3 separate regions of the Homo sapiens genome follow, and regions 2 and 3 are each linked to region 1. The links are contacts of gene promoters, found by promoter capture Hi-C in blood cells and fetal thymus (Javierre and others, 2016). All regions are on one chromosome and are shown on one strand. Each heading gives the region's core, a stretch centred on a gene start or on the middle of the fragment in contact. The rest is flanking DNA. Distances are from core to core; before and after follow the strand shown.

Evidence for each region. The method cuts DNA at HindIII sites, captures the fragments that hold promoters and counts their contacts. A CHiCAGO score of 5 or more calls a contact.
Region 2: a contact is called between a fragment that was not itself captured here and the fragment with the promoter of LCE1F in region 1, in 1 of 17 cell types (M2 macrophages). The highest score is 5.2, in M2 macrophages.
Region 3: a contact is called between a fragment that was not itself captured here and the fragment with the promoter of LCE1F in region 1, in 1 of 17 cell types (M2 macrophages). The highest score is 5.5, in M2 macrophages.

Annotation. Positions count from the first base shown.
Region 1 is chr1:152,773,809-152,776,565 of GRCh38, forward strand. LCE1F (late cornified envelope 1F) reads left to right here and starts at 1,332. Exons shown (of 2, transcript NM_178354.3): 1 at 1,332-1,382; 2 at 2,542-2,757. The coding sequence starts at 2,564. The HindIII fragment of the contact is 9,364 bases long and covers 1-2,757 here.
Region 2 is chr1:153,013,355-153,016,111 of GRCh38, forward strand. It overlaps LOC105371446 (a long non-coding RNA gene), which reads left to right. Exons shown (of 3, transcript XR_922151.2): 2 at 381-441. Among named protein-coding and RNA genes, the nearest start is that of SPRR3, 13 kb to the left of the region's middle. The HindIII fragment of the contact is 1,786 bases long and covers 479-2,264 here.
Region 3 is chr1:152,636,420-152,639,176 of GRCh38, forward strand. No RefSeq gene overlaps it. Among named protein-coding and RNA genes, the nearest start is that of LCE3A, 15 kb to the left of the region's middle. The HindIII fragment of the contact is 4,038 bases long and covers 1-2,757 here.

The sequences.
Region 1 (2,757 bases), core at 82-2,581:
TTCCACTGGTCACTGATCATCTGTTCATTTTTTTAATATTTTTCCCTTTCTTCAGTTCAGTTTGAACAATTTCTTCAAGTTCACCGATCTGTTCTTCTGCAACTTATAATCTGCTAAAACCATCCAATAATTCTTTGATGTTATATGTAATTTTGACCATATTTATTTTTCAAATATTGGTTTTTTATTGTTAGATTTTGCATTTGGTTAGTTTTGAGCATGGGAAACTGGGAAATTAAACCCAGGAAATGTGTATTGCAACAAAGCCAATAATTTCAAATTAAATATTGACTATGTCTATTCTTGTCTATACCAACTACACCACTCCAAGTCACAGTTCAAAGCCACCTCATTGGCTGTTCTCTTCTCTTCACCCTTCTCATCTTTATTTTACCTCATCCCTTCAGCTTTTCCTCAGGAAACTGCAAATTCTTTTATGCTATAATTTGGGGCAATATACATCCTTTAGTCCTCTTTTCTTATACCCACTCTGGATCTACCTTCAGAAAGCCCTATTCACTGAGGTACGTAGGAGGAAAAAAAAATGGCCTTTAGTTTTAATAAGAGCCACCTAACTTAAAAGGCACCTGTGACTTTAAAAATTCCCAATGTCCATTAAAATCTCAGGTTTGCCTCTATTTTTCTTTCTATCTATCTATCTATCTATCTATCTATCTATCTATCTACCTATTCATCCATTTCCTAATTATAACCACATGCCACATACTATCTCAGCTACTTCCCCTTTGTTATCTTAATTAATTTGTAAATCCTGCAGAAAAGATATTTCTCTTATTATCTTCATTTAAAACATCAGAAAGCCAATGGCCAAAAATATTGAATACTTTGCCAGGGTCTCCAAGGCCTCTTTTCTCGACTTCTATGATGCACACACATGCCCATGTGCACATGGACAAACCCCATAATGCAGGCATGTGGATTTTTAACCAAGCTATATGGACCCAAAGGTCTAGATGGAAAATTAGTATCTAGAATAGAAGGAAAAATGAGTTGTTTGTGCAGAATTCATAAGTGTGACTACAAGACTGTGAAGAGAGCCATCTTCATAGGAAATAGGCCACGGAGGACTCCAGGAACCATGATGTCCATTTTCACCCACCACAAGCCCCCATTTCCACCAAGCTCTTTCCTAGCTGACAGCAGCTCCCCTGAACACCAATGAAGGACGGTATATGCAGAACTGCCAGTCACCACTCGTCACAAGACCTATGTGGGTGTCGGGAGGCAGGTCCTCTCATGCCCAGGCTCTGTCTCACCGCTGGAGGCAGCACCCAAGGACAGAATAAAAGGGCTCAGGGCCAGAGCATCCCATCCACTCACCTCCTGCGGTGCTGAAGAACCCTGTGCTGCCTGTGATCCTGGTAAGTGTGCCCTGGAAAAAGGAGCAGGGGCTTCCACAGAGGGATGCCCAGGCCAGGGAAGGAGGGGATGGATACTCAGACCAGGGCAGGAGTAGAGTCTAGGCAGGGCCTCAGGGGCCTGGAATTGTGATTGGCAAGGAATGGGGTGGGGGCAGAAAATTGGAAAGAGGAGGTAGAGGGGTGGGGTGGAGTGAGAGAGATTAAGAAGAACTGGTAAGATCTGAAGGGCTGTATGACACAGATTTAGAGGAACCAAATTGTTTTCAGTTGCTCAGTGTGTTTCTCTGGTTTTAGAGAATAAACACATTGGCCACTGGATGTTGCTAGAGTGGGCTGCATAGTGGGAATATAATTTTGGAAATACAGACATACTCACTTTTAGAAAAGATATGCTGAGAACACTGCTACTTAGAGGAAGAAAGGATCAAAGACACCTGTGGATCTTGTTAGATGCCAACAAGAAGATCTGTAGTGGAAAACTGAGTGCACACTGGAGTTTAAAAGCCATGTGACAGTGCCTGGGGACAGGCCTGGGGAGGCAGGATGTGCTAAAGGGCAGAGCCCAGGATGGGAACCAGGGGACCCCGGAACAAATGTGACTGTTAATGAATAACTTTGGGCCAGTGAAGTTACCTCTTTTGGCTTCAGTTTCTTTATTTATATATTGAGTTGGTTGGAACAAATTGACTCCAACATCCTTTGCGGTTATAGTTTTCTCTATTTCTGCAAACTGAAATATATCAGTTCTTCCAATAGAAATTTATTTTGATTTTTCCTTAAAGAGATTTTCATCTCTAAACTGGTCTCAACATTGAACATTTTCAGAATTCTTGGTGATGTGATAGAATGAATGCTGGCCCGGAGCCAATTTATTTCCTGGACTTCTCTCCCACACTTAGGAGCTTTTAATGAGCAGAAACTTTATTTACATATTTGGAGATTATATATTGCATGACAACATCTCAAATAAGGTTTGAAATGAGAATCCATGAATGAAAGCACTTGGTAAACATTGAGAGTGATAAAAACATTAGAGGTGATTTTCCTATGTTTGATATAAGGCTTTCAAAATGAAGGATCTAGAAATAATGCAGAAAGGACAAGAATAGGCAGGGGTGTCCTCTGCCTCCATCTAACTTGCTGTCTGACCCTCCTTCAGCTCCTGAACACCCGCCACCGAGATGTCTTGCCAGCAGAGCCAGCAGCAGTGCCAGCCCCCTCCCAAGTGCACTCCCAAGTGCCCTCCCAAGTGCCCCACACCGAAGTGCCCCCCAAAGTGTCCCCCTAAGTGCCCTCCTGTCTCTTCCTGCTGCAGCGTCAGCTCCGGAGGCTGCTGTGGCTCCAGCTCTGGGGGCTGCTGCAGCTCTGGGGGTGG
Region 2 (2,757 bases), core at 122-2,621, 240 kb after region 1:
ACCCTCTCCCCCAACCCTAAGCAACCACTAATCTACTTTCTGTCTCTGTAGATTTTCCTACCCTGGACATTTCAAATGAATGACATTATATAATACATGGTCTTTTGTGACTGCTTTCTTTCACTTAGAATAAAGTTTTCAAGGCTCATTTGTGTTCTGGTATTAATCAGTTCTTCATGTCTTTTTAAAAATATTTTGTTGTAATAAAATATACATAACATTTATCATTTTAACCATTTTAAATATATAGTTCAGTGATATTAATTACACTCGTATTGCTATGTAATCATCACCACCATCCATCTCCATAACTCTTTTCATCTTGTAAAACTGAAATGTTATACCCATAAAAATAACAACCCATTTTCTCCTTTCCCCAGGCCCTGGCAACCACTACTCTATTTTATGTCTCCAGGATTTTGACTATTCTATGTACCTCATGTAAGTGGAATAATAGAGTATTTATCTTTTAATGACAAGCTTATTTCACTTAGAATAATATCCTCAAGATTCATCTATGTCATAGCATATGTAAGAATTTCCTTCCTTTTTAAGGCCAAATGATATTCCACCATAGGTATATGCCACATTTGTCTTATTCATACTTCCATTAATGAACACCTGCGTTGCTTCCGCATTTAAGCTATTATGAATAATACTGCTATGAACATGGGTATATAAATATCTCTTCATGTCCCTGCTTTCAATTCATTGAAGTATATACCCAGATATGGAATTTATAGTTCATATTGTAACTCTAGTTTTAATTTTTTAAGAAAAGGTCATACTGTTTTCCAGAGCAGCTGTACCATTTTAAACTACTACCAACAGTGCACAAAGGTTCCAAATTCTCCACGTCCTCACCAACACTTTCTATTTTCTGGCATTTTGATGGTAGCCATCCTAATGGATATGAGGTGGTATCTCATTGTAGTTTTGATTTACATTTCTCTAATGGTTAGTGATGTTCAGTATCTTTTCATGTTCTTATTGGCCATGGTATACCTTGGCCAATGTTTTCTGAACTTATTTAAATAAATGCTTAGGCAAGTTATTTACCTAGTTTTCCTATTTTTTTAATTGGGACATTTGGTTTTGTTGGTTGTTGAGTTTCAGGACTTCTCTATGCCTTTTGGATATTAATCCCATACGATATATATGACTTGCAAATATATTTTCCCATTCAGTGAGTTCCCTTTTTCAGTGTTGAAGACATTCTTTTAGTATACATTACTTTTTAATTTACTAAGTCCAATTTATCTATTATTTGTTGTTGTCTCTACCTTTGGTGTCATATCCAAAAAAATCATTGCTAAATTCAGTGTTGTAAAGTTTTTACCCTATGTTTTCTTTGAAGAGCTTTATAGTTTCAGGTCTTACATTTAGGTCATGAATCCACCTTGAGTTTAATTTTTATATGCGGTCTTAGGCAAGAGTCCAACCTTATTCTTTTGCATGTGGATATCCAGTTTTCCCAGCACCATTTGTTGAAAAGGCTGTCCTTTCAAAAATAACTGTATCATGTATTTGATAGTTTATTTCTGGGCTCTCAGTTGTATTCTACTGGTTTAAATGTCTGTATTCATGCCAATACCACACTTTTGATTATTAGAGATTCATAGTAAGTTTTGAAATTAACAGGTGTGACTCTTTCTGCTTTGCTCTTATTTTTCAAGATTCTTTTGGCTATTCAGGATCCCTTGAGATTCCAGATGGATTTTAGGATGGGTTTTCATATTTCTACAATAAACATCATTGGGATTTTGATAGAGATTACACTGAATCTGTAGATCGCTTTGGGTAGCATTGACATCTTAACAATGTTAAGTCTTCCAGGTCATGAACACAGATGTCTTTCCATTTATTTTATGTCTTCTTTAATTTATTTCAACAATGTTTTATAGTTTATTGTAAAGTCTATAACTACCTCTGTTAATTCCTAAGTATGTTATTCTTTTTCATTCCATTATAAATAAAATTTTTTCTTAATTTTCTTTCAGATTTTTTATTATTAGTACATAGAGACATAATTGATTTCTGTGCATTGACCTTGTATCCTGCTATAATGTGTTATTAGTTCTAACAACTTTTTATAGAATCTTCCGGTCATATCATCTATTAATAGAGATAATTTTACTTCTTTTCCAATTTGGATACCTTTTGTTTTTTCTCCTGTCTAATTACTCTGGCTAAAATGTCCAGGACTACATTGAGTAGAAGTGGCAAAAGAAGACATCCTTGCCTTTTCTTCATCTTAAGGAAAAAGCTTTCAGTCTTTCACCATTGAGTGTGATGTTGGCTGTGGTTTTTTCACATGACTTTTAGAATGTTGAAAGTTTTCTTCTATTCTTAGTTTGTTGGGTGTTTTTATAATAAAAGAATGTCAAATTTTGTCCAATGCTTTCTTTGCATCAGTTGAGATGATTATGTGATGCTTTTCTTTGTTATTTTAATGTGATATATTATAATGGTCAATTTTCATATGTTGAACCATTCTTGCATTCAGGAATAAATCCCACTTGGTCATGGCATATAGTCCTTTTAATATACTGCTGAATTCAACTTGTTAACATTTGTTAAAGATATTTGCATCAATGTTCTTAAGAGATATTGGTCTGTAGTTTTCTTTTCTGTCAGTGTCTATATCTGCGCTTGGCGTCGAGATAATGGTGACTTCATAAAATGAGTTAGAAAGTGTTCCCTCCTCTTTAATTTTTTGAAAAGTTTGAAATAGATCGCTGTGAATTCTTCCTAAAG
Region 3 (2,757 bases), core at 73-2,572, 140 kb before region 1:
CTGAGGCAGGAGAATCGTTTGAGCCTGGGAAGCAGAGGTTGCAGTGAGCCAAGATCGCACCGCTACACTCCAGCTTGGGAGACAGAGCAAGACTCTGTCCCAAAAATAAAAGCAGCCTGCAATTCTGCAAAGAGACTGAAGCCAGGCTTTGAATGATCTTAGCCCCTGATCAGATTGGTATTACCTGGGAGTGTTAGTGCTCCCAGCCTAGATGCTTGCTAGAAAGAAAATAAAATCGACATTTAGAGACTAAATGACTTCTATAAATTTTTCATATAGAGCTCTACAATTAATGAAAAAAAACCAAATATATTTTTAAAAATTTGACTAGAAAAAGTAAGAGAAAACAAGCAATGCAAACAGACCAGAGGATATCTAGCTAGTATAGTTATGAGATACATATTTGAAAATATCTATGATTAGTATGCTGAATAAATTAAAAGGCAAGGTGGAAAACTTGCACAGGGATCTACAAATTCCAAAAGGTAACAACATGGAAGTCTAGACCTGAAAAATTAATAACCAAAATTAAGAACTCAGTAGAGAGGTTAAATAACAGACAGCACAACAGAAGAGATAATTAGCAACTGTTAGATTGGACAGAAGAAAATATTGAAGCAAGGGAAGACAAACAACCAGAAAATAAAAAAAAAATACAAAATATATATGGACTATAGTGAAAAGTTCTAATATCTAGATAATAATACTTGGAATCCCAGAAGAAGAGAGAGAACAGAAATAAGCAGTACATGAAGAAATAATCACTCTGAATTTTGACATACTGACAAAAGATATCAAACCACAGTTCCAAGAATGATTAGGCATCCCATGCACAAACTTCTTCTACTATTAGTGCTTGGGGATCCACCTGAGGCCTGGTGTTTCTTGCACTCCTTCTTGTCAAGCTCTGAACTCCTTCCTGGTGAGATGCTAAAATCTTGATTTGGCCTCTCAGCTTCTTAGCCACCACTTTCACTTTCAGCATTCACAAATGGCTGCAGGGAATACATGTCCCAAATATCTGACCCACCCTGCTTGAAGACCCTCTGTTTCCACGTCTTGACATCATCTGTTTTCACTGCCTTGGAATAGGCTTGCAAGATAAAATATAAGATGGCCAGTTAAATTTAAACAATGGATAACCAGCGAATACATTTTTAGTGTAAGTATATACTATGTAGTATTGGAGATTTATACTAAAAAGTTATTGTTTATCTGAAATTTACATTTAATTGGGTGTCTTGTATTTTTATTTGCTAAATCCAGAAATCTACCTTAGTCCCTCTTCTCGGTCTTCAAAGGAGTTTAGAAACATATTGTCCACATATTTTAGCTGTTCTTATTGGGAAGCTAAAACAACATAGTTGGCTATTGCTGGGAGAGAAATTCCTGAGTTTTAAAAGATAACTTAATTGAAGTATTACATGCATAAAGCAAAGCACACAATCATTGTATACAGCCTGATGCTTTTTCAAAAAGGTAACACACTTACATAACAACACCCAGATCAACAGAGAAATGATTACCAGCATCTTAGAAGCTCTCCTTACTCCCCTTTCGAGTTACCGTTATTCCCATCCACACCAAAGGTAACTGTTATCCTGATTTTTAACAGTATGGATTAATTTTGCTTGTTTTCAAACTTTATAGAAATGAAACCATATGCTAAGTGCTCTTTTGCATCTGGTTTCTTTGCTCAGCATTATGTTTATGAGACTCATCCATAGTATTGTGTGAAGTTATAGTTTGTCAATTTTCATAGTGATATAGTATTTAATTGGGTAAGCATTCCACACTTAATTCTCTGATTAAAGGACATTTGGTTAGGTTTCAGTTTTTTGTTTGTTACAAGTAGTTCTGCCATGACCATTCTTATATATGCCTTCGGTACATATACGTGTGGATTTTGGAGGATTATATTTGGGGAATAGGTCACAAGTTGTGCATATGCTCAGTTTTACTAGATACTACCAAGTAATTTTTTAAAAAGTCTGTATGAGAGTTATTGCTCTGTATTCTTGGAAGTCCTTGGCATCATTTGTGTCATCATGTTACCCATTCTTAGTGTTTGTCTCAATGGCAGTGAAAGTCTGCCTCGTGTCTGTGATGGGTCTTGGGCAGCAGAGAGGTGGTGTAGGCTGTTATCATTGAGAAGGTACTCTTATTAACCAGCTCCCTTCAGTCCTACATAGACTATCTTGGGTTATCTTACTATATACTCCCACAGTCCACATTTTGTAGTAATTTCTTGCATAATTGGCTGCTTTAGCCATGAGTTTATTACCTCCATGAGGATAGAGACTAAAATTGTTTTGTTTTTCTGCTATAGTTTAAATGTCCCCTCCAACACTCATGTTGCAATTTGGTTGCCATTGTAACAGTGTTGAAAATTTGGGCCTTTCAGAGGTGATTGGGCCATGAGGGCTCCACCATCATGAGTGGATTAGTGCTGTTGTCATGGGAGTGGGCTAGTTGTTGCAGGAGTGGGTTCCTGATAAAGGAATAAATTCAGTCCCCATTTTCTCTCTGTCTCATATATTCACTTGGCCTTCTGCCTTCTGCCTTCTGCCACAGAATAACCCTTACCAGATACTAGCACCATGCTCTTGGACTTCCCAGCCTCCAGAACTGTAAGCCAAATAAACTATTGTGTTTAAATTATCCAGTCTTTTTTTTCCTAACTTTTATTTTAGGTTTAGGAGTACATGTGCAGGATTGTTATATAGCCAAATTGCATGTTGTGGGGGTTTGGTGTAC